Regions from separate parts of the Homo sapiens genome. Here regions 1, 3, 4, 5, 6 and 7 are each linked to region 2. Evidence: promoter capture Hi-C in 16 types of primary human blood cells and fetal thymus (Javierre and others, 2016). All regions are on one chromosome and are shown on one strand. The core of a region is centred on a gene start or on the middle of the fragment in contact, and the rest is flanking DNA. Distances in the headings are between cores, read along the strand shown.

Region 1 (3,093 bases), core at 415-2,914, 450 kb before region 2:
CTTTTATCTAGTCTGCACTTACAATGTGTTTTAAAATTGGCTGACAATGTCATTTTCAAAAACAACTGGTTTGGTTAACATATAAAAGGATCTATAAATAATTTTTTTTCTACCTTTTCTATTATATGGAATCAGACATAACAGGAACTTTTGTAATTTGGGTTTCTGGTCTCATCTTTGAACTCCTCAGTTCTATGCTCCGAATAAACTTCAAGCACAAGATGTTATTAATGATATTGGCTAATTTAATTTGATCCTCACATCAACATATATTTTCTGTTGCAATTAAATATTTGATCTTAGTGTTAAAATTATAGATTGGGCAAAATTGACCTCACACAGACTCTGGTTTATTCAATATTTGAAAGGCATCAAATGGAAATTGGTACTGTGGAATTTTTTTGCCCGGAGTTAGATCAAGTTAGAGGTTCATTTGCTGGGAATAAACTCAATTAATATTCTAAATATCCTTTCTTTCTAATCCTAAAGCTTTCATTTTTTAAATTTGAGCTCAGTTTAGAATCAAAAGAGCTGTTCCACGATTGAGGATCTCTGTTGAGAGTTTCTTCAACAAATGTTTTTTGGGGTTTTTCAAAATCAAAGAATATCTAAGTTTTCAGAACATGCACCTTTTAAATATTTTAAAATTTTAACTTTGGGGAAACTATATATAAAATTTAAAATAATGACAATAATATTCTTTTTTTTTTCAAAAGGACTGGTTTTGATCTGAGGAGATCTGCTTCAATTCTTAGTGAAGGTCAAAATTGCTACTGGTTGTCTGCTAGTCCATTGTCTTAAACACTGAGGGAAGAGTTTCCCATGCTTACACAGATAAGTCAGCTTTGCAAAATAAATCATACTATCAGCTAAATAAGCCAATTAAAGCAGGAATAATGTGATTAAAAGCAAATCACCCAAACACTTAAAATATCTTAAAAATCCAATATTTATTCTCCAATAAGGGAAAGTATTCAGACTTAATGCATAGAAATGGAGATGTGCTAGCTATGCAGATTCCTTCCATCTTTTCTCATGTTTCTAATGGCATTTTAAAGTAGACTATGCCTGGCTCTGCCTGGAGATTACTTCATAGACTAGTAGTTCTTCCAGGTTGTGAGAAAAAGTGGCATATTAGCTGCTTTATAATCCATGTAGCACATTTTCAAGCACCAGGTTAGTTCTAGGGATGAGCATATGATGAAATCCAACTGAGGAGGGAAAGTGTGCAGAGTAGAGAATAGCATATCATGAGGTATTCAAGCATTTGCCTGTATTGGCTTTGCATTTATTACCAGATACATTAAGAGCTGTCTGTGAATGTGAAAACAAATTTGGATCATCCTATCCAGAAGGGAAGGCTCCATTGTCTCCCTGTTTATCTGGCACTAGTACAGATTCCAAGTATTTGAGTATGCTGACTTTTAGGGCTAATAGAAACTGGTCTAGCTACCACGTGTGCCCTGGCACAGAACTGCATTAGTGATGTTTTTATTTAAGGGTCAAACTATTACTGTTCCTATGATCAAATGAAAAATTCTGGAATGTCTTTATAGTCTCCTTTATCCTAGTTCTGAATGACAACACATTTTTTAAAATTCATGTTTCTAACTTTGTTCAATTTGAAATTAATTATACTTGTAATTTTTGGACTGGAATTGAATTGAATTATATTGATCCAAAATTTTTTCTCAGAAGAATGTAATTTCATTTCTCTGAACTTCAAACATGAGTTATTTTCCATAATGATAGTAAAAAATTGAAGAATAGATGGCACTATCAGAATAAATGCATGTAGATAAAATAATCAATAGCTCATATAAAAATGCTTTGCTCACTTTTTTAATCCTTTGGCATTGCCTAAAAGAACTAAAGGTTTCTCTTTCAACACTAGTCTAGTCAGTTCACCTGGCCCAAATGGCTGTAGAAACCAGGTCCTTCCCCGTCCTGCTGGGTTACTGGAGGGTTGGGTTGGATGTACAGCCCGACTGGTTTTCACATCTCCTCTTTTGTCCTCCATGGTGGGTAATACCACCACGGGGATAAGTGTGCATTGCTCAAGGGTGCTGTTAGAAGACATGACTTCAGTGTACCCTTCTTCACAATGGCATGTTTTTGTCTGCAGGAGAACAAGAAGATTTATACTAGCCATGCAAGGAATCTTTGGAAGTCTAACAGACCTGACTTGAAGAGAAGGCTTTAAACAAGGTTTGTTTTGGGAATTACTATACATAATTCCTCTATTATTTTTAACTACAAAGAAACATACTTTTGGCATTATATGAAAATGTATTCTAAAGGTGAAAGCAAGTGAAGTCAGGACTTTTTAGATTGATAAAAGGAGATGTCTAAAATGGGATTTTTATGCCTCAAGACATGCTTTCTTTGGAGGAAGATAAACTGCATAAGAGACAGTGGGGTGACACATGATGGAGCTGGCTTGTCTGCCCTGATGAATTTTCACATACCTCGCTACAGTACGAGTGGGGTTGACTACACGGTGGGTTACAAGACCTGTCGGCATCAGGCTGGCTCATCACCAAGCAGCCCCCTGCGGAACAGAAAATCATGTTTTGACAAATAATATATTTTGCTATGATGAAAATACACTGTGGTTAGTGACTTGTCTTTGAATCTTGAACCACCTTGGGAATCCCAGGAATTTTTCTGTCAGTGGTTGACTGTGAAATATTTGGTTAACCTTGACCACCTTATGTAGTGACTCCAGGCCCTTTTTACCCAGGGGAGCTAGCTCAGTGCCTGGTACTCAGCAGGTATTCAACAAGCATTTGTTGAAAGAATGATTTTATAGCTGCTATTTTGAAAATACTAATTGCACACAAGCTTTTTCTGTCAGGAGCACATGAATCCAAGTCCAGCAATTGAAAAGCTGATTTCATTTCAAGTTAAAATTCTTTCTTGGAGATTCAAAACAATAGTTTTCACGTACTTTGAAATAACTCTTCAGCTCTTTATGTTAAATAAATGTTTTCTTTAAATAATGCATATTTCTTTTTCAGAAAAGTCACAATTTCTGCTAATTCATGGTGTTTTTTGGATATAGAGAAGAAAACAAATGTATCTACGAAATCA
Region 2 (3,088 bases), core at 353-2,852:
AAATTGTGTACTTTGACTTTAAATAAATTTCTGTTTAATCTCCTCACTAAATTTCTGGATAGCTGCAACTTCTTTAAAAATTCCAGATATCGATAGTGATGCAATTGTAGAGTAGACTGAGCTGTCTCTTCAGTAGTGGTGCAGAGATGGGCTGAAGCAGGAAAAGACACTCACTCCCTGAAACCTGTTTGCAACCCCATGACGAATACATACTTTCCCTTTCAACTACAACATTCTCTTAATGTTTGGCATGACCAAGTTATTCTTAAATTACCCCCTAGCTCTAAGCAACAGGAATAATCTTTTCCCATTTTATTCCTATGAACATGTGAAGTTTCAGGTCCCCTAAGGAATTCTCAATGTTTTTTTAATGCAGAGAGAAAGCGAACCCGCAGAAAAGGGGTTGGTAATTCCTCACTCCGTATTGTTTTCCTGCCTGTCACGGCCCCCGCCAGAAACTCCAAGCATTTTGCCAATGGGTAATGATGGGCAGTTAGTAGCTGCTTTTGTTGGGTGGTTGAAAAACAAAGCAAAACAATTCTCAAGGAAGGAAGAGAAAGTTTGAACCCAGACATCCTAAAAGTTGTACACTTTAAAAATCCTCCGACTCGCTAGTTAATAATTGAGTTTTCAGTCTTTCCCTGAAGGCTCACTGGAGCCCCATTTGCCTTTAATTGTTGGAACCGCCCTCACTTGGCTTGTTTCTGAGGTGTCCCACATATCACAAAGCTAAAGTTAACAAATTCAACTCTATATCCACAAATGTCATGACAGTGAGCATATTGCTTTGCCTAAAGAATAAAGACTGAGACTAAACTCTTTGCTTGTTCTTTGCTAGAAATCTGTTTGAGAAACTCCTAGTAGAATGAAAATCCAGGGGTTAAAAATAATGCACTTCATCATGGAAGTGCGCGTTGCCCTCATTACAGAGCTGCGAGAGAAATATTCCAGCTACTCACTGTTGCCTCTTAGTTGTTATGCTTTTCTTTCCTAATTGCATCGGACATGACCTATTTGCTTCCTAAGAAATCATACTTTTTACCTTAGGATACCAGCATAACCAAGCCATCCAAAAGCACCGGGGTCCCTACAGAAGCCCACCAGCTCCTTAATGTGGCCCCAGATGTGAAGATGGGGAAAGGGTAACTCCGTCCCACTTACCAGTCTTCCACAGATAGAGGGTGGGCGCCTCCGCCTCGCCCTGCGCCGCAGCCCTGCCGGCGCCCGGGCGTAGCAGCAGCAGCAGGAGCAGCGGCAGCGGCAGCGGCAGCGGCAGCAGCTGCAGGACGCCCCGGCGCGGCCCCGCAGCGCCCCGGCTCCCGGACGCCCAGCGCCTGGCTTGCAGCCCCATGCCGCCTGCAGCCACTCCAGGGTCCAGAGCCGTAGCACGCTCGGCAGGGAATTTTTCTCCGCTCTTGGAACGTCTTTTCAAAGAGTACAGAAAGCAAAGCTCTTTCCTGCTATTGTTCGCTTCAGATGAGAAGGAGGGAGAGCGCGTCTAACACCAGGGAACAATAGCGTCCGCGGTGGTGGCCGTGGCCGCTGCCGCCGCCGCCGCCGCCTCTGGCGGGGATGCTGCTGCCGCTGCCATTCCTCGCAGAATGGCAGGTCCCGGCGGCTCCGGAGGCAACTGTCCTCAGGGGGCCCCAGCTGACTGAGCAGGTCTGCTAGGTCTGGGAGGCAGCGCAGCCCCCGCCAGCTGGAGGGGGAGGAGGGGGGCGTGAGCCCAAAGGAGCAGAGGGGGCTGGAGGCAGAGGGAGGCGAGAGCGCGAGGGCGAGAAAGGGGGCGAGCAAAGGGGAGAGGGGCCAGCCAGGCGACACCCACCTCCGACATACCCGCCTAAAGAACTCCGGTGCACATGGTGCGATGAAATATGTTTGGAAGGATGCACCAATAAAAAGAATCATCACCCGGCAGATTTCAGAATGACAAATAACAGGCATTGATATTCACTGTCATCCAAGGAGTCAAATGCTAGATCTAGTGGCATGCTATTCTTAGTACGTATTTACACAAAGCATCAGTGTTTATTATCTATTTTTAAGCCATGGCTTCTGAATTACTTTGTGTGGGGAGCAGTATTTGAGATCAGGTGTGAAAACACGAGAGCAGAAATGTTGACTTGTCAAAATGCACTTAAACCCTTCTTTAAATGTTGTTTTTAACTTAATCTATTATCAATAAAAATATGAGCAATATTGATGCTCTGTGACAAATTAAATTGTCTTTTAATAGCCTTTAAAACTGAATTAGTGTTAATGAGTATTTGCAATGCTACCTAATTACATAAATACAATTGTACAAAAAAAAAACCCTTAAAATTAAAATTATATTTCAGGTATAGAGTTCTGTCCCTTCATCTACTTCTTTCCCTCAAAAATATGCTACTTCTAAGTATTCAGATAGTTGTGAGTCAAACTGAGTCAGTAATGCTGTCTGGATATCTTGGAATTAGTAAATTCTTCATTTAAAATTTCCCTGACACCGATTTTTCTTAACTCTTACTGTAGCAAAATGCCTGTCGCAATCTAAATAAGGAACCACATGTGTTTGCATCTTTTGTCCTTTGTGTTTTCACTTTCTTCTACCAGTAGTAATAGAAGAATGTGTGTGAAGTCGGATAATGCTTTCCCCTTTCTCCTTCTCCCTTTAGCTAATAATAATATATTTTATTATTAATTCATTTCACAGTAAAGCTAAAATAGTAGGCATTTAACCATTAAAAATTCAGCAAACGGAAAGCCAAAGAAAACTACTATCCCATCAGCAATTTTCAGCCAAATAAAATAAAATTTTAAAAGCAGGAAAACTACTTTTTATGAATTTACTCCAACATAGCTACCCTAGAGTTTAAGATGAGGAAGCTACTCTTTCTGAAAGAGGAAACCTTCCATAAGGCTCCCTTGGGACCCTTGTCATTTTGCAAAGCCTTCCAGACACAGCCCCTCTGCATGCATTAGATTAAAAGCGGGTTTGATCAAATAATTCCCAGGTCCTGCCTGTTTAAGTATTCTGACATCAGAGGAAATTAGCTACGTTGAAGGTTGCAAATTTGGTCTTTGTTTACTTTCCGCTCTGTTAGGCCTC
Region 3 (3,376 bases), core at 440-2,939, 320 kb before region 2:
TTGTATATAAAGTTCCAAAACAAGTAAACATGATATGTTTAGACACACGTATATATGTGTCAAAGCCATCATGATAAACACAAAATTCATTTAGAGATTCACTCTGGAGAGGGCTTGAGGAGAAAAGAGAAGGAGGAGATCATGAGGGGTCTAGGAGTTTCAATTTTATGAGTAAATTTCTATATATTTTCTATTTATTTAATTGGATAACATTTTAAATAAGTGTTTTTTGTCTTTAAGATTTATGATATATAATATTGCATGCAATCTTTAACATGCATCAAATATTTCACAAAATTTTTCAACAGGTTAGCAGTATAATTATTCAGTAATATTAAACAATACTACGTGTGCTTACTTTATTAGTTGCTTAATTAAAAATAAATGACTGTACTTGCTTTCTCCTTTCAAGATTATTACTCTATTCTTTGGAAGAACATAGAAACATTTTACTATGACTGCACGAAAGCTCCAAAACTAAGAACCACTAATATTTGTAGGGGTGCTCCACCTTCAGTGACAGTGCCTTCTGTTACTCCATTTCTAACCTAAGAAGATGGATCTTTCTGTTCAGAAGATCACTTGTTGTTTCAAATTTATACTCATTTGAATCCGTCTTCTTTTGCTTTGAGTGGCATAAGTGATAAATGATTTTATGCAAATATTAACTTTAGAAATAAATTTTACATGTAACTAATGGGAAATCACATCTGAGCCCATCCTATCAAAAACAATTAAAATACATGCTTTCATCTAAAAATGGAAACATTTCACTATGATTTTAGTTCCTGTTCAAACAATAAAATTTATTCATTAGACTCTGTATCAACCTTTATTAGCCTCTCAGAATATTAATGTTACTTGCTAGGTCTGTGATACTTTAACTGAATATTCACAGCTTCAACAAGTTTGCTATGGAACAACTGTAAGAGATGATGATGGTGAATTTATCCCACTTTTCTACTTGTTATTTAACTCTGGCTTTTGACAATGTTCAACTTGACTTCAGACAGCAAACCTACCTTTTGGCTGAAAGAAGACTCTGTAAATGCACAAGGCAGATAATTTAATAATCCATAGTGCCATAAATAAGCACAATATCAACAATTAATTATGATCTATTTATATAATATAAAAATTTAACTCATCATCTACTGATTATGAAAATAACTCATTGCATCTAGCTAGATTTATTACCAAACACACAGCTATTGTCATAGAAAATTAAAGCTACAGAGATCTTTTATATATATATTTTTAGAGATAAATAAACCAAGCTTGTGATGGGGAGAAAAGACAGCCCATGTTTTATAGTAAGTGGCAGAACAAGACCTAGACTTCACATTTCATATTTTAGTAGTCTTTTTAGTACATCTATGGCAATGATTTACATACATAATATCTTGGTTGTATCTTACTATCCAGGGATATAAGCTCACAAGTTACTGAGAAGAAACAAGGAGTACTGCTTTGGCTAAGTGAGTTGTGACTTCATAACTGTGACTGCCCAAACTCAGTTAAAAGCCTGTCAAAATATTTCAAGTAGCACTATCAATCATGATTTAAAGTATACTGTGAATGAATAAATAGTGAATGAAACATGTTTAAACTATATAAATATGAGAACTTTTGGTTGTGATCATTTTTAAAAGTGATTTTTCCGTTTTCCTTTCTAAATTTGAGATTTCTAGGAGCTATTATTTGTGTGCATCTTTATTTTAAGTTGTATTCTGGCTGTAATAAATAAAACCTGTAATAAAGTATAATACTTATGTAGTTAATTTACTGAACTTACTGCAAATAGGTTCAAACCCAAAAGCTAAATTGCCCTCATAAAATACATACATAAATACTTAAAATGCACTTACAAAATCAGAAATTTTAAACTAATGCATTGACCCATTTTTGAAACAAGGCAGAATACAAGATAAGTATGGTTATTGATTAAGCTAATGTCCGTGTACCCGAGGAATGATTTGGTGAGAACTCATTCACGATTCTAGATGACCTACTACTGATCAGCTAGCTCTGCCAGAAGAAAAATTACTGAAGTGTACTTCATGGCTATATTATAGTGCCTCATCCCCATCTTCCTATAAAAGGAAGCTTCCAAAAGCCCATTGACCTTGCCTGTGTGCAGAGATGACCTTGTTTGTACAGCAGTCAATGCCAACATCCATCTTCAGTGTGAAATTCTGTCAATAACATTTTGGCTTTAAATTCTTATCTGTAAAGCTTTCTCTTTAAGAAAAAATTTGCTATTTGCTAACAATATAAATCTCCATAAAACTATCCTTTACAGAAAAGCTGAATTTAAATTGCATTTTAAAGGATTAAATATAAAATGTTATTTGAAAATAAGGATATATTTAATAATTTCATAGGAGGCACCAGGTGTATTAAATAATGAGCTTGAATTCAGGGATATGGCACCAATTGTCATGTAATGCCATTAGTATTTTTGGTAAGAAAAGGACATATACATCACTATATTGCCATCGCCTACCAGAATTGCAGTCATGGTCATGTAGACAGAGCCTTTACATGATGCAATGAAATAAAAGAGAAAATAATAGTATTTTTCCTATCAAAATAATTGTATATGTAATACGCATTGCCATCTGTCACATTCATAGGTCCAATTGTTTAAGCAAGAGAACATATAAATACTTCCATATCATTATTTTATTTTATTTTAGAGATCAAGTCTCTCACCTTTGCCTGGGCTAGAGTTCAGTGGCACAATCTTGGCTCACTGCATCCTCCACCTCCCGGGTTCATGCCATTCTCCTGCCTCAGCCTCCAGAGTAGTTGGGATTACAGGTGCCCACCACCATGCCCAGCTAAATTTTTGTATTTTTAGTAGAGACGGGGTTTCACTATGTTGGCCAGGCTGGTCTTGAACTCCTGACCTCGTGATCCGCCCACCTCGGCCTCCCAAAGTGCTGGGATTACAGGCGTGAGCCACCATGCCCGGCCCCCATATCATTATTTTTAAAAAATCACAAAACTACATTTTTAAAGAGTTAAAAAAAAAAGGTTTGCCCTCCTGAAACAGGGAATATCATTAAAAATAGATACACTAAGTATAACAAAGTAAGGCTATGAAGTAAAAAATAAGCACAAGAGAATCAGATAAAAGAAGAAAAGCCCAGCATATCATAATATTTTGACATCAGCTTTTGATTGCCATTTTACCTCAAGTCTTTTTTAGTTTCTTCTCTTGATCTGAGCAGTTGGTAGACAACTACACCATTTTTAACACAACTTAATAGAAGTCTTTATAGAAAGCATATTTTAAAGCTGCATGCAATGAGATACATAGAAGATAATTTTATAGTAGGTTTATTTTTCTGATCCCTTATGAAAACTGACA
Region 4 (3,105 bases), core at 383-2,882, 400 kb before region 2:
GAAATGGGAGTATTTTCTTTCAATACTTCTTAACTACAAACTTGCCATTTCACAATATCAATTAAACACTATTATTCTCAAGGCAAACATGTGAAAACAGCAAAATTCCTCTAGTCAAGAATGAAACGCACGGTTGTCCTCTATAATAGTCTGAATGTGGAGAGAAGGTGTTCTTGGTACAAGAAAACACTCTGCCTTGCCATTTTATCTCAACAGCAGAGATTCGATTTTGACAATGATTATAATGTAAACAATTGATACTAGGCAACTCTAGGTAGATTTTTAAAAATTTATGGAGATATAATTCATATTCCATAAAAATAACCCCATGTTTTGGTTTTCAGTATGTTTGCTGCGTTGTGCAACCATCATCACCATCTAATTTTAGAACATTTGTTTTACTCCAAAAATAAACCCTATGGTTACTGGCAGCCACTTCCTACTTTCCCCTTCCTCATCCCCTGACAACCATGAATCTACTTTCTATCTCTATGAATTTGCCTAATCTAGACATTTCATATAAATGAAGTAAAACATTATGTGATCTTATTTCTTTTTTGTTTTAGAGATGTCTCACTCTGTCACCCAGGCTGGAGTGCAGTGGTGTCATCATAGCTCACTGCAGCCTTGACCTCCTGCACTCAAGAGATCCTCCTACCTCAGCCTCTTAAGTAGCTGAGCTGGGACTAAGGGTGCCCACCACCATGCCAGGCGAATTTTCATATATATATATATTTTATAGAGATGAGGTGTTACGGTGTTGCTCAGGTTGGTCTGGAACTTCTGGCCTCAAGTGATCCTTGGCCTCCCAAAATATTGGGATTACAGGTGTGAACCACCATGCCTGGCTTGGCTTCTTTCACTTAGTATAATGTTTTCAAGGTTCATTTATGTTATAGCATGTATCAGTTCTTCAGTCCTTTCTATGATTGAATAATATTTCATTGTATGGACATTTCACATTGTTTATCCACTCATCAGTTAATGGACATTTGAGTTTTCACTTTTTGTCTATCATGAATAATGCTGCTATGAACATTTGTTTACAAGCTTCTGTGTGGGCATACATTTTCAATTCCCTTGAATATATACATTACAGTGAAATTGCTCAGTTATGTGGTAACTCACTTAGCTTTTTCAGGAAGTGTCAAACTGTTTTCCAAAATGACTGCAGCACTTTATACTCCACCAGATATGCACGCATGTTCCAATTTCTATGAATTCTTGTCAAACTTGTTATTGTCTCTAAAATTTTGGTGTTGTTTGAAGAACAAAAGTTTTAAATGTCAATGAAGTCCAGTTTATCTTTTTTCCTTGGTTGTTAGTGCTTTGGTATTATATCTAGGAATCCACTACCAAAGTCAAGGTCATCTAGGTTTATAGTTGTTTTCTCAAGAGAATTTAATAGTTTTAGCTCTTATATTTAGGTGTATGTTTCATTTTGAGTGAATTTTTGTTTATGATAAAAGGTAGGGGTCCAACTTCATTCTTTTGCATGTGGTTATTGAGTTATCCTGTCTTCAGTTGTTGAAAAAACCTGTTCTTTCCTAATTGTTGTGGCACCCTTGTTGAAAATCAGTTGACCACAGTGTAACGATTTATTTTTGAACTGTAAATTCTATTCCATTTATCTCCATGTCTAGTTTCATGATAGTACCACATAGTCTTGACTACTGTAACTTTGAAGCAAGTATTGAAATCCAGAAGTGTGAGTCTTCCTATTTCGTTTTTCCTTTTAAAGATAGGTTTGGCTATTTTGAGTCAAACTTCTATATGCATTTTAGAATTAGACTGTCAATTTCTGCAAAAAATTGCAGCTAGGATTTTGATAGGAATTGTGTCAAATTTGTTGATCAACTTGGAAGCACTGCCGTCTTAATTCAGACACATGGAATTCATTTCCATTTATATAGATCTTTAATTTCTTTCAATGATGTTTTGTAGTTTTCAGTGTACAGGTCTTGAACTTATTTTGTTATATTTATTCCTAAGTATTTTATTCTTTTTATTGTAGGTGGATTTTAAAAAGAACCTACCAACATTAATTTCTTTAATTAAAGGAAAGTCAGACCACCTTTAAACCAAAATGGCAAATTTAATCTATAAGATTGTGCCCAAACTGTCCTGTATTGAAAGTGTTAAAATACTAATTTACTATACAGTATTTCCTAGCCTTGCCTAATCATAAATTATCTGAGACACATGTTAAAAACATAAGCTTCTACCACCCTCAAGTTATTGACATTAATACAATCCATAGCACTTACTCAGGTTTCACAAGCTTTACTTTTAATCATTTGTGTGTGTGATTGTGTAGGTCTTAAGTTAGGAAGTGCTACTATAAGATACAGACAGAACCAAAAAAAATGGAAGATAAATAGATTTCTGGCATATCTTTTTATGTAGTATCTCCTATACATTTGTCAAAGATATTTGTTTTAAACTTCGTATTGTAGTCTTCATATGCAAAAGTGCATTTTCCATAGACGTAAATTTCACTGAACACACCCCTGAAATCAATAGTCCAGAACTCTCCTCCGTATTCCCTTGCAGCCACTGCCCCTTCTTACAAGAGCAACAACTATCCTGACTACTCACTGTGTAGAATAGTTTTACTTTTTAAAAATTTCATGTAAATCGAATCATATAGTTTATATCCATTTGTGCTAGCCTTTTCACTCTACATTGTGATATGCGTTTTATCTACGTTGGTGCATATTGCTGAATATTGTTTATTCTGGTTGATGTGTAGCATTCTATTGTGTGAATATACTATGACTTGTTTATTCATTCTATTGGTGGTGGGCATTTAGGTAGTTTTCAATATGGGGCCATTATTAACAGTGCTGCTATGAATATTCTAGAATGTGTCTTTTGATGGACATATGTATGTATTTCTGTTTGGTGTACTCCTAGGAGACAAATGGATAAATTGGATGGTATGTATATTATATTATCCATTGTAAATGAAGTATAAAATAAATTTTAAAAAATGGGATCACAAATTTGGCATGAAGATTAGGATACAATGAAAAGTTCTGAAAGTGGGCATTAGTCCCAGATAATCTTCTGGAGGGCAGATGTGGCAGAGTTGGGATTTTGTTT
Region 5 (3,336 bases), core at 740-3,239, 430 kb before region 2:
ATGTAATTGGTACTCCTGAAGTACAGAAAGTTCTAGTAAATTTTGGAAATGCAAAGGAAAAAGAAACTAGAAAGAATTTCTAAATAGTCTGAGAAAGTTTTAGAAACGCTTTTATTTCCTAGGAAATGTCACTTTGGAGTTACTCAGTTTTTAATTATGTAGGAAAACTGCTAAAGTTAAAAAAATTCCTGTCAATATGAATGTAATAAAATTTCACCTCAGTGATTGAAAATTACATGGAAAGAAAACATACCTTTTCACCAGTAGGCTTTATCTTTGTGGCAATTCACATTTAGCATCATTTATTTTGCAACAAAATGTAATAAATCTTTTAATGATAGTCTGTGAGTTATGTAATTTTCGCCCCTAAGTAATACATGTCAGGCTTCAAAGATTTAATAACAGCAAATGAGAGTGAGATACTCCCTTGTCCTAAACACACTTTTCTATTTTGACCATGTAAACCATTGTAATAACAATAAAATTACCCGATGCCTGCCAAAGATATGACAATTAAACACATGAGATGTATTTCCTAATTTAGTATTCTACTCTTTAAAGCTTATTAGTTCACATACTGCCAGCTTTCAAAACCCATCATTAGAGAAAACTAGCAAGAGAGGAACTGAAATGAATAGATTGTAATTTAGAAGAGAAGAGCAGCCTCCTAGATTTGCAATTACTTTAATTAAAACAATGTGTTTGCTCTATGTTATCATGGGATCCTGTAATTTTCCTTCACATCATTTACCACAGGTTATAATCTTATATATTATATATTATTGTCACTATTAGATTAGCAATTGTTCTTTCCATTAGAAAGTAAGCTGTACAAGGACAGGGTCTCTTGGTCTGCACTGTATCTCTGGCCTCAAGTCCAGGGCTTGACCTGTAATTACATTTGATAAGTAACAGTCAAATGAGTGAGTGTGTGTGCTGCAGAAAGTATAATGAAATCATGTGAGGAGTGTCCATAGTAAGGCATATACCACAGTCTGACAAGGATGCCCGTTCTGCTCAATGGTGTGAATGTCACAACAATCCTATTACTGGTGCTGGAGATTTGGTTTTGGAAAAGTAGGCCTTACAACTTTTAGCCAAGGGTCACTTTTTGTTGCCTCTATGGCCATTCAGTACATCAAGGTCCAAAGGTTCAGTCCTTGGCCCTGCCTGGAGCTGTCACCTGCTGCCACAGCCTTAGGCTGGGTCTGCAGTGAAGCAAAATGATTTTATTGAATTGTGTGTGAGATCTTAAATGATATCAGACTAGTTTCAGCAGCAGGAAGTGAAAGGGGAATTGCTGGCTCAGCAAAAGGTTGTTGGCAGCAACACTTTGCCTGGCTTTAGAAAGTCAGATTTTCTTTTCTTTTACTTTATTTTTAAATTTTATTTTATTCTATTTTATTTTTTATTGTGATAAGACCATTTAACATGAGATCTACCCACTTAACACATTTTTAGGTATACAATACAGTATTGTTAACTACAGGCACTATGTCTTAGAACGGATCTCTAGAACTTATTCACCTTGCATAGCTGAACCTTTACACTCATTGAGAAGGAGCTGCTATTCAGATTTTTGGTTTTTAAAAATAGTTTAGTTCTTGACCTGAAGTAGATGAAAATATCCATGTGTGCAAAGATCAATACAATAGTTGGATATTTTCAGAGTCTAGGGGGCTTGTCCTCAAAATAACCCCTATCAGGGTTATTTTATTTACTGTTCAATTTCATTCAGTTCATCTTAAACTATACCCTACCATTTTTATCATCTCAAATGATTTTTTTTTTTTTTTACGAAGGAATAAGTAACTCGATGAGTGAATAAATAGCTAGCCCATGTCAGTTTTTCCAGGTTTTAGGGACTCAATCCCATTTACAAATTTTTGTTGATATATGTTATCCACTTTTAAAATTTTCTTAAATCACATCCTTTTATATAGAAAATGTGTTTTATGCCCCATTATTTTTGCCAAATCCTTAATTTTTAATATTTTGAGGTCACATTCAAAAGAAAATATTGTGAAAGAGATGCAATCTTTAAATCATAATTATAAGCAAATTGGGAGAATACAAATTTTCCACTTGGGGATAAAATACAGGTAATTCATTTTCAATCTGTTCATTTCCAGTCCACTAATAAATTGTTGCCCCTATCTATACCTTGTTCAAGGATGGGTTTTCTGGCATATTTTGACATTAAATTTCCTCTACAATTCTCTGCATCAAGCCCAAATTCATAAATATTAGCTTATCACTGTCTGCCATTTTTTCCATACTATTTGATAAACAAAATTTTCTTTCTACTTTTACTGCATGCACTCATTGTGTCTAACACTGAATCTGAATAATATCTTTCAATAGTTTCCTCCATACTGCTATTTTGTCTTCCAGTTGTAGATAATCTGTTATTTTCTTACTGAAGACTTTACTAATTATTTTTCTATATTTTATGTTTTGACTACATTTATCTAGGTATGAGTTTGTTGTTCATTCTACCCTGGACCCAGGGTAAGCTGTTATTATGAGGACTTAATCTGTTTTTAGCCATTATGTATTTAAACATTGGCCTCTCTTTCTCTCTTCTGGAAATCCCGAATAGGTTATGTTTTGTCCTTATTTTCTCATCTTTTATTTCATAACTTTTCTGTGGAGCATGGGCTTAAGGCCTTAAATACCATCTCCTGCAGATGTTAAAACTCCAGAGGGTGTTGAGAGGCCACATGGGAGACCTGGACTTCAACCCTACCTGGCAGTAATGAGACAGCGTCCCGTTCCCCACAGGCATAGTGTTGAGCTGTTGGCATAGATATTACTGAATAAGAAGACTGTTGACATCCTGTAACTTATACTTTATATGCAACCCCTTCACGGCCCTTGTCCTAGGAAAAAATAATCAGAATATGAATTCTCCTTTGCCGTTGTTACCTGGGCAAGGCTGGCTGCAGGATTCCTCCAGAACCATATTTTTATTACCATCTATAATGAGTTCAATGTCAGCACAGAATTCCTCATCCACCACTTTGCTGAAATCATCAGCTGACCCATCACTTACTACACAAGAAATGTTCCTTGTTCTGGTCCCTTCTCCACACTGGGCCTCCTGGAATGGAGGAAGAAATAACTAATTAGAAAAAGAGAAATACTTCATTAGAGAGCTCATCACTTAGTTATCTCTGCACCACTGACTTTGATTTATGAACATTTAGAGAAGGATTTGAAACCCTAGGGAAGAAGCCCTATAGGGCACTAGCAATAAAGCATACATTGAACAATTTGTTTCCTAGCTAAAGACAGGAAAATAAATTTTCATTAAAATGAATCAGTCTCCAAATG
Region 6 (3,394 bases), core at 587-3,086, 280 kb before region 2:
ATCCAATGGGTGGTGTCCTTATGAGAAGGCCATGTGAAGGCATACAGAGAAGTACCATGCTTAACGAAGACAGAGTTTGGAATGATGCAGCTACAAGCCAAGGAACACCAAGGATTGCCAGTAGACCATTTGTTCCAGTGTTAGGGAACAAGCATTCAGTCTTTTACCATTAAGTATAATGTTAGCTATAGGTTTTCCTAGGTGTTATTAAGATGAGGATGTTCTTCTCTATTCCTATTTTTTTCTGAGAGTTTATTATGAATGGATGCTAAATTTTGTTAAATAGCTTTTGCTGTATTGATTATGTTTTTAGTCTGTTAAATTGGTGAATTACATTGACTAACTTTTTAATATTGGAGTAGGCTTGCATCCTTGAATAAACTGCATTTGGTCTTATATTTTAATTATTTTTATATATTGCTGAATTCTACTTGCTAATATCTGTTAGGGATTTTTGTCTATGTATGAGGCATTTTGGTCTGTATTTTTCTTTTTGGTGAACTGTCAGTGCCTTTGTTGCCTCTTTTTTTCTGTGTAGAAATGCTCTATTTCATATTAGATGAGTTGTGGTAGGTTGCAATTTATTTTGATTTTTTTATTCTTCCCATGTAGTCTAAGTTGTCAAATTTATGTGTATCAGGTTGTCTGAGGTATTCCATGGCTATCCTTTTGATGTCTGTAAAGTGTGTAGTGACATTTCCCTATTTCATTCCTGGTGTTGGTGATTTGTGTTTTTTCTTTTTTCTTTTATCACCCTTGCTAGAGGTTTAATGATCTATTGAATGAACCAGCTGTTTGTTTTATTGGTTTTTCTCTATTTTTTATTTTCAATTTCATTGATTTCTGTTCTTATGTTTATTATTTACTTCTTTCCTTCTTGCTTTCAACTCATTTCACTCCCATTTTTCTTGGTTCTCTAGATGGGAGCTTTGATTATTGATTTGTGTCTTATCCTCTTTTCCAATGTAAGCATTTGGTGTTACAAATGTCTATCTCAGCACTGCTTTAGCTATGCCTCACAGATTTTGATATATTTTCTTTTCATCCAGTATTTTGATTTTCCTTGAGAATTCCTCTTTCACACATTGATTGTTTAGAAGTGTGTTGTTTTCCAAGTGTTTGGAGATTTTACTCCTATCTTTTTTGATTGAATTCTAATTTGATTCCATTGTGCTCAGAGAACACTCTATAAATTATTTTACATTTGTTGAACTATGTTTTATGGATGATGACATGGTCTATTTTGGTATATGTTTCACTTGAAAGAAGGTGAATTCTGCTGTTGTTGGATGGAGTAATTATAATAATCCCTTTTAGATTTTATTGGTTGATGGTACTGAGTTCTTCCGTATTTTTGCTGATTTTCGTCCTAATTATTCTATGAAGTGTTGGGAGTAAGGTATTGTCATTTCCAACTACAATTATCTATTTGTCAATTACAGTTTTGTCTATTTCTCCTTTCAGTTCTATCAGTTTTTGTTCATATATTTTGCAGTCTGTTGTTTGGCACAAACACATAGAATTCCTTTGCCTTCTTGGTGGATTGACTCTTTTGTCATTATATAATTATATAATATCTTTCTCTGTCTCTGGTAATTTTCTTTGCTTTGATGCCTAATTTATTCGATGTTATCATAGCCACTCCTGCTTCCATTGAATAACATTTTCATGACACACAGTTTCTCATTATTTTACTTTAAACCTGCATATAACATTATATTTGAAGTGAGTTTCTTGTAGAATGTGAATAGTTGGGTCCTGCTTCTTAAATCTGCTCTACCAATCTGTGTTTTAATTAGTATACTTAGACTATTTACATTTAATGTAGTTATTTATATGTTATGGACTAAGTCTTCTATTTATTTTTATTTATTCATTTCTGTTTCATTTTCCCTGTCTTCCTGTGAGTTAACACATTTTAGAATACCATTTTGATTTATCTACAGTGTTTTTGAGTGCATGTCCTTCTATAGCTCTTTTAGTGTTTGCTGTAGATATTACATTACATATATATGTCATATATATGGGTGTGTATGTGTATATGTGTATATATGTACATATATATACAAGATATACTATATATATATATCTTATCACAGCCTACTGATATTTTCATTTTGCTAGTTCAACTAAAGTATAGAAATCTTACCCTCCCTCATTTGTAATAAATTGTTTTAAATATATCGTCTACGTATTTTTAGAATCATATCAGGTAGCAGTGTTATAATTTTTGTTTCAACTGTCAAATATAATTTAGAAAACTCAAGTGAAGAAAAGCCTATTGTATTTAGCTATACTTTGTTTACCCGCTCTTTCTCCTTTCCTGATATTCCAAGGTTTCTTCCTTTAATCTTTCGTTTTTATTTAGTGAACTTTCTTTAGCTATTCTTTTAGGGTAAGTCTACTGGTAACAACTTCTCTTAGTTTTCCTTCATTAAGAATGTCATTATTTTTCCTTCATTCTTGAAAGATATTTTCTCTGAGTATTGAATTGCAAGTTGACAGTTCTTTTCCTCTAGCACTTGAAAAATATGGTAGTACTTTATTCTGACCTATATGGTTTCTGGTTCACTGTCACTCAAATTTCTTTTTCTTGTAGTAAGGTTATCAATTTTCTCTGGATGCTTTCAAATACTTTTATCTTTCGTTTTCAGATTTTTATTATAATATGTCTTGGCATGTATTTCTTCAGGTTTAACTTATTTGGAATTCATCCAGCTTCTTGAATCTGTAGGTTTATGCTTCTTACAACATATGAGAAGTGTTCAGCCATTATTTCTCTGAATACATTTTTTTTCTTTTAAGCTCTGCCCTCTTTCTCCTCTTCTTCTGGAATTCCAATGACATGAATGTTAGATCTTTTGTTACAGTCCCACAGGTCTCTGAAATACTTTTAGTTTTCTTCCCTCATATTTTTTTCTGTGTTGTTCGGATTAGGTAATTTTGATTATTCTGTATTTTAGTTCTTTGATTCTTTCCTCTCTCCCCTCCATTATGCTGTTAGACCCGTATACAGAGTTTTTATATCTGTTATTGCATTTTTCAGATCTGCAGTTTCTACTTGGTTCTTTTTTACATCTTCAATTAATTTGCTGAAGATTTCTATTTGTTTCAAACATGCTCATAACTGTTGAAAGATTTTCATCATGGCTTCCTTATATCTTGTTGGATAATTCTAACATCTTCATCATCTCAGTGTTGGCTGCTATTTATTTATTTTTTTCGTTGAATCTGGTAACTCCCTGGTTCTTGGCATAAGGAGTGACTTTGATTGAAACCCAGACATTTTTGCCTCATGTCACAAGACTCTAGATCTTTTAAAATCCTTTTCTTCTTTCTAACTGGCTTTTTATGACCCTGCTCCAGAATGGCAAAAGGGTGTATGTATGCCACA
Region 7 (3,289 bases), core at 631-3,130, 380 kb before region 2:
CACAAGCCTGCCATTTTGATCGTAGCATGCCATTGCTTGGTAACGATATCCTTGTCCGCATTCCTTGATGTCTCCTTGTACTTTCATTCCCAGCAACACTTCCACTTTTCCCTCTGGTAAAATACAGTCTGACCAGTTCCCCACAGGTTGTGCATTATATTTGTCACAAGGACAATACTGAGTCTCAATCAGGGGATACAAATGGGAATTTTTACATTTTTCCTTCTTTTTACTTTTTCCTGTGGAAGAGAAACAATCAGGCAATTTAAGTTGGAAAATACCATCATTAATTTCACACATCCCTAAATTTTCTGCTTTCCTAATTTCTTTTTCTTCATTTTTAACCATATTTAACAGTAGCCTATAAATCAATGCTATTTTCTCATTCCACAGTGTTTTCTACATAGGCTCCTGTTGGTATTGGGTGCTTTGCATAGTAAAATTTGTATTATTTTTTCAGAACACTATTTTTCACATACTTTTTAATTATACTACAGATAAGTATATATTTATCTCTCACCTTCATAGGCTGTGTTATATAGTTTCGACAGTCTTCATTACATAGGTGGTTCATTTTTTAACTTAAATTCTGAGTACTCTACTAGCACCAATATTTTTAGGTTGCTTTTGCCATTGGCAATATTTCAAATGCACCAAGCTTTAGTTCAGAGTGATGGATCCTAATCCTGCTCATTATATTCATGCTGTTAGTCATTACTATGGTTTAAAATACAATTTTCAGATACAGAATTAATGCTATATTCCCCCTTCTAGGTGAGAAAGGATAATCTGAGGCTCTGACAGTGAGAATGGGTTAACAAAGTAGCAACTTTTTCTCTTGTTCCCCAAAAACTTTGCTCCAAGCACTTTACAGTCTGCAGGCAGTCCACTAAAAGATTATGTCTACACCAGAAAATAATCCACTGCATATTATATAGGGAGTCAGAGTTCAATTTTCAAGCCTTCCTTTTCTTTTTACTAAAAGTACATAATGCTTTTATCACTGCCAGCTAAATTTAAAATATACATCTAAATCCATTGGCATATTATTTTTCAAATACACTGTCAGAATTCTCTCAGTCTGACTTGTATTATGTTCCTCTACTTTGACGTGTACTGGCTTTGGCATCCCAATTATTCTTACCAACAAGAGTGCGCTTTCTGGTCCTAACTGCACCACAGTCTCCATTGCATGAAGAAAACTTGGACCAGCTGGTCAATTGACAGTCATCCTGGCAGGGGATCTGGCAGGCCTGGGTAAGGGCTGGCACAGGGCCTGCATACTGTAGGCACTCATGGATTCCAGCCTGTCCTCCATCTTGCTTGCGACAAGTAATGGCTAAAAGAAAAGCATAAAGCTGTTATAACAAATTCAAACGTCTAATTACTCTATAATTTAGAAGCTAACCTAACATTTGGTTAAGCAGTCAGAGAAAGCCTCTTGTAGTTCCTTACTTACAGTAGAAATCTTATAGGAGTGTTTCTAATAATCCCAGTAGCCATTAAATTGGTTATTTTTAAAAATAACACACAACCCTGAGTGATTTTTGTGGCACAGAAAAGTGGACACATATGCATACTTAGCATTTACCAGTTTTAATTATATGTATTCAGGGTTTCAATTCATGTCACATGTAGGGTATATTTAGAAATAAATTTGTAAGAATGTAAGACAAACCATACGTGGGTTCTGATAATAGCTTATGTTGAGCATAGGGTGTTTGGAGAGGGACTGGAAGATACTAGGTATATCTAATATTGTTTTATATCATTGGACACCCTAGAATTCCTTTATAGAAGTGTTTTAGTGGCAGAAAGCTGGTTGGTAGGTTGGAGTTTGGGGTCAGGAAGGTGTGCTTATAGAACTTATCTTGAAACTGCATTGGCATGGGAAGTATGTTCACTGTATTACATTTCAAGTTTATTAGGAAGGGTTGGAATCATTAATGGATAAGCAATGTCAAAGTCCTCCATCTCCTCTTTCTACAAGTTCTTCACATGCACAAACATCAACCTGGCACTTAAAAATTTTCAATAATCTTCATTTATTATGTTAAAATTTGTAGTTCTAAAATTACATATAAATTTAAAAAATCAAAGTTTAAATTCATAAAAATTATTTCGCCTATGATATTGTTCTGCTGACTTAAAATGAGAAATAATATTTTTACCTATTGAACATATACATATGAGTGTTTTATGGTAACAAGTCTTAAAGAAAAAGAGCAAGCATGTTTAAAGCCCACTTTCTCCCTATGCCATTTCCTTTCCATTGGTTTTAAAAACAACTCACTTATTGAGGAAGCAGATGAAACATTAAACCTTGGTCCTAAAGTTGGCTTCACTGAATTATCTTAAATGGCCTCATTCAGATTGATTTACTTGGCTTTTTCAGGTTTATGGTCTAGGCTGAAACTGCCGCTGATCTCTGCCCTGTTCAGGATTCCATCACCATGAAATCGAGGTGAAGGAGCCTGACGTTTTTGACCTTAAATTACAGTGAGGGCATAGAGGGCCTCAGGTTAGACAACACCGTCTGGATCTGTGTACTAAAACCTATTGCCTAGGAGTGCAGGGCTTTGTAATAGAGTGTGTAAATGGACATAACTAGCAATTTTAGCAAGGCAAGATTTTCTCTGTGTAGTTGAACACAACTTAATGCAACTGCTTCAGGCCTAACATAAAAGGCCCTTCTAAATTGTTCAATTGTGGATGCACTTCCCTATTTCTTAGCTTTAGATGTGCTTTTCATTTAGTACACATGACTTGACTTTGGAAGGGCCAGTTTGTAAGAAAAGAACAGGGGCCCCTAAATTTTTAAAAATATGAAAATCCTGGTAGGGTGAACAGTGTTGGCCTTGATGAAGGTTAGATGACAGAAACAAATAAAAAACATTAAGTGTCTCAAAGAGAATCTACCCCCTTGAGGGAGGACACATCTGGTACTCTGTTTAATCATAGCAGTCTAAGATGGTGGTTCTCATGTCTGGCTGCAGATTATAATCCCCTGGATAACCTTTGGAAAATACCTATGCCCTTACTAAACTCTAATGCTCTGATTTCCCTGGTTGAGGTTGGGGTCCTGGGATTTAGGATACTTTTTAAGCTTTCTGATGATTTAATTATCCAAGCTATATGAGAACTACTGCTCTAGTAGGTAATATATTTTCACCTGCATCAGAAACACCTAGAATGCTATTAAACATGAAGATCCCTGGACCCAAAAAGAGTTCCATAATCTGGACCAATCCAGATAATGAGATACCTGCTATGGGGTCAGGAATATGCA

The links. Contacts are between HindIII fragments. The CHiCAGO score rates a contact against its expected background, and 5 or more counts as called.
Region 1: a fragment that was not itself captured here is called in contact with the fragment with the promoter of THSD7A in region 2 in 1 of 17 cell types (endothelial precursors); the score reaches 7.6 in endothelial precursors.
Region 3: a contact is called between a fragment that was not itself captured here and the fragment with the promoter of THSD7A in region 2, in 1 of 17 cell types (endothelial precursors). The highest score is 6.9, in endothelial precursors.
Region 4: a contact is called between a fragment that was not itself captured here and the fragment with the promoter of THSD7A in region 2, in 6 of 17 cell types (endothelial precursors, megakaryocytes, erythroblasts and 3 more). The highest score is 23.0, in endothelial precursors.
Region 5: a contact is called between a fragment that was not itself captured here and the fragment with the promoter of THSD7A in region 2, in 3 of 17 cell types (endothelial precursors, M2 macrophages and M1 macrophages). The highest score is 6.7, in endothelial precursors.
Region 6: a contact is called between a fragment that was not itself captured here and the fragment with the promoter of THSD7A in region 2, in 1 of 17 cell types (endothelial precursors). The highest score is 5.6, in endothelial precursors.
Region 7: a contact is called between a fragment that was not itself captured here and the fragment with the promoter of THSD7A in region 2, in 1 of 17 cell types (endothelial precursors). The highest score is 9.2, in endothelial precursors.

The regions. Positions count from the first base shown.
Region 1 is chr7:11,377,162-11,380,254 of GRCh38, forward strand. THSD7A (thrombospondin type 1 domain containing 7A) reads right to left here. Exons shown (of 28, transcript NM_015204.3): 25 at 2,469-2,551; 26 at 1,909-2,119. Among named protein-coding and RNA genes, the nearest start is that of PHF14, 400 kb to the left of the region's middle. The HindIII fragment of the contact is 2,355 bases long and covers 488-2,842 here.
Region 2 is chr7:11,830,596-11,833,683 of GRCh38, forward strand. THSD7A (thrombospondin type 1 domain containing 7A) reads right to left here and starts at 1,603. Exons shown (of 28, transcript NM_015204.3): 1 at 1,162-1,603. The coding sequence starts at 1,351. RefSeq lists enhancers at 1,200-1,740, 1,741-2,280. The HindIII fragment of the contact is 6,451 bases long and covers 1-3,088 here.
Region 3 is chr7:11,514,399-11,517,774 of GRCh38, forward strand. The region is part of intron 6 of THSD7A (thrombospondin type 1 domain containing 7A); the gene reads right to left. Among named protein-coding and RNA genes, the nearest start is that of THSD7A, 320 kb to the right of the region's middle. The HindIII fragment of the contact is 829 bases long and covers 1,276-2,104 here.
Region 4 is chr7:11,429,917-11,433,021 of GRCh38, forward strand. All of the region lies in intron 13 of THSD7A (thrombospondin type 1 domain containing 7A), which reads right to left. Among named protein-coding and RNA genes, the nearest start is that of THSD7A, 400 kb to the right of the region's middle. The HindIII fragment of the contact is 1,168 bases long and covers 1,049-2,216 here.
Region 5 is chr7:11,403,372-11,406,707 of GRCh38, forward strand. It overlaps THSD7A (thrombospondin type 1 domain containing 7A), which reads right to left. Exons shown (of 28, transcript NM_015204.3): 22 at 2,929-3,103. Among named protein-coding and RNA genes, the nearest start is that of THSD7A, 430 kb to the right of the region's middle. The HindIII fragment of the contact is 2,861 bases long and covers 560-3,336 here.
Region 6 is chr7:11,554,254-11,557,647 of GRCh38, forward strand. All of the region lies in intron 4 of THSD7A (thrombospondin type 1 domain containing 7A), which reads right to left. Among named protein-coding and RNA genes, the nearest start is that of THSD7A, 280 kb to the right of the region's middle. The HindIII fragment of the contact is 5,711 bases long and covers 1-3,394 here.
Region 7 is chr7:11,446,086-11,449,374 of GRCh38, forward strand. It overlaps THSD7A (thrombospondin type 1 domain containing 7A), which reads right to left. Exons shown (of 28, transcript NM_015204.3): 12 at 1,145-1,339; 13 at 1-239. Among named protein-coding and RNA genes, the nearest start is that of THSD7A, 380 kb to the right of the region's middle. The HindIII fragment of the contact is 2,448 bases long and covers 657-3,104 here.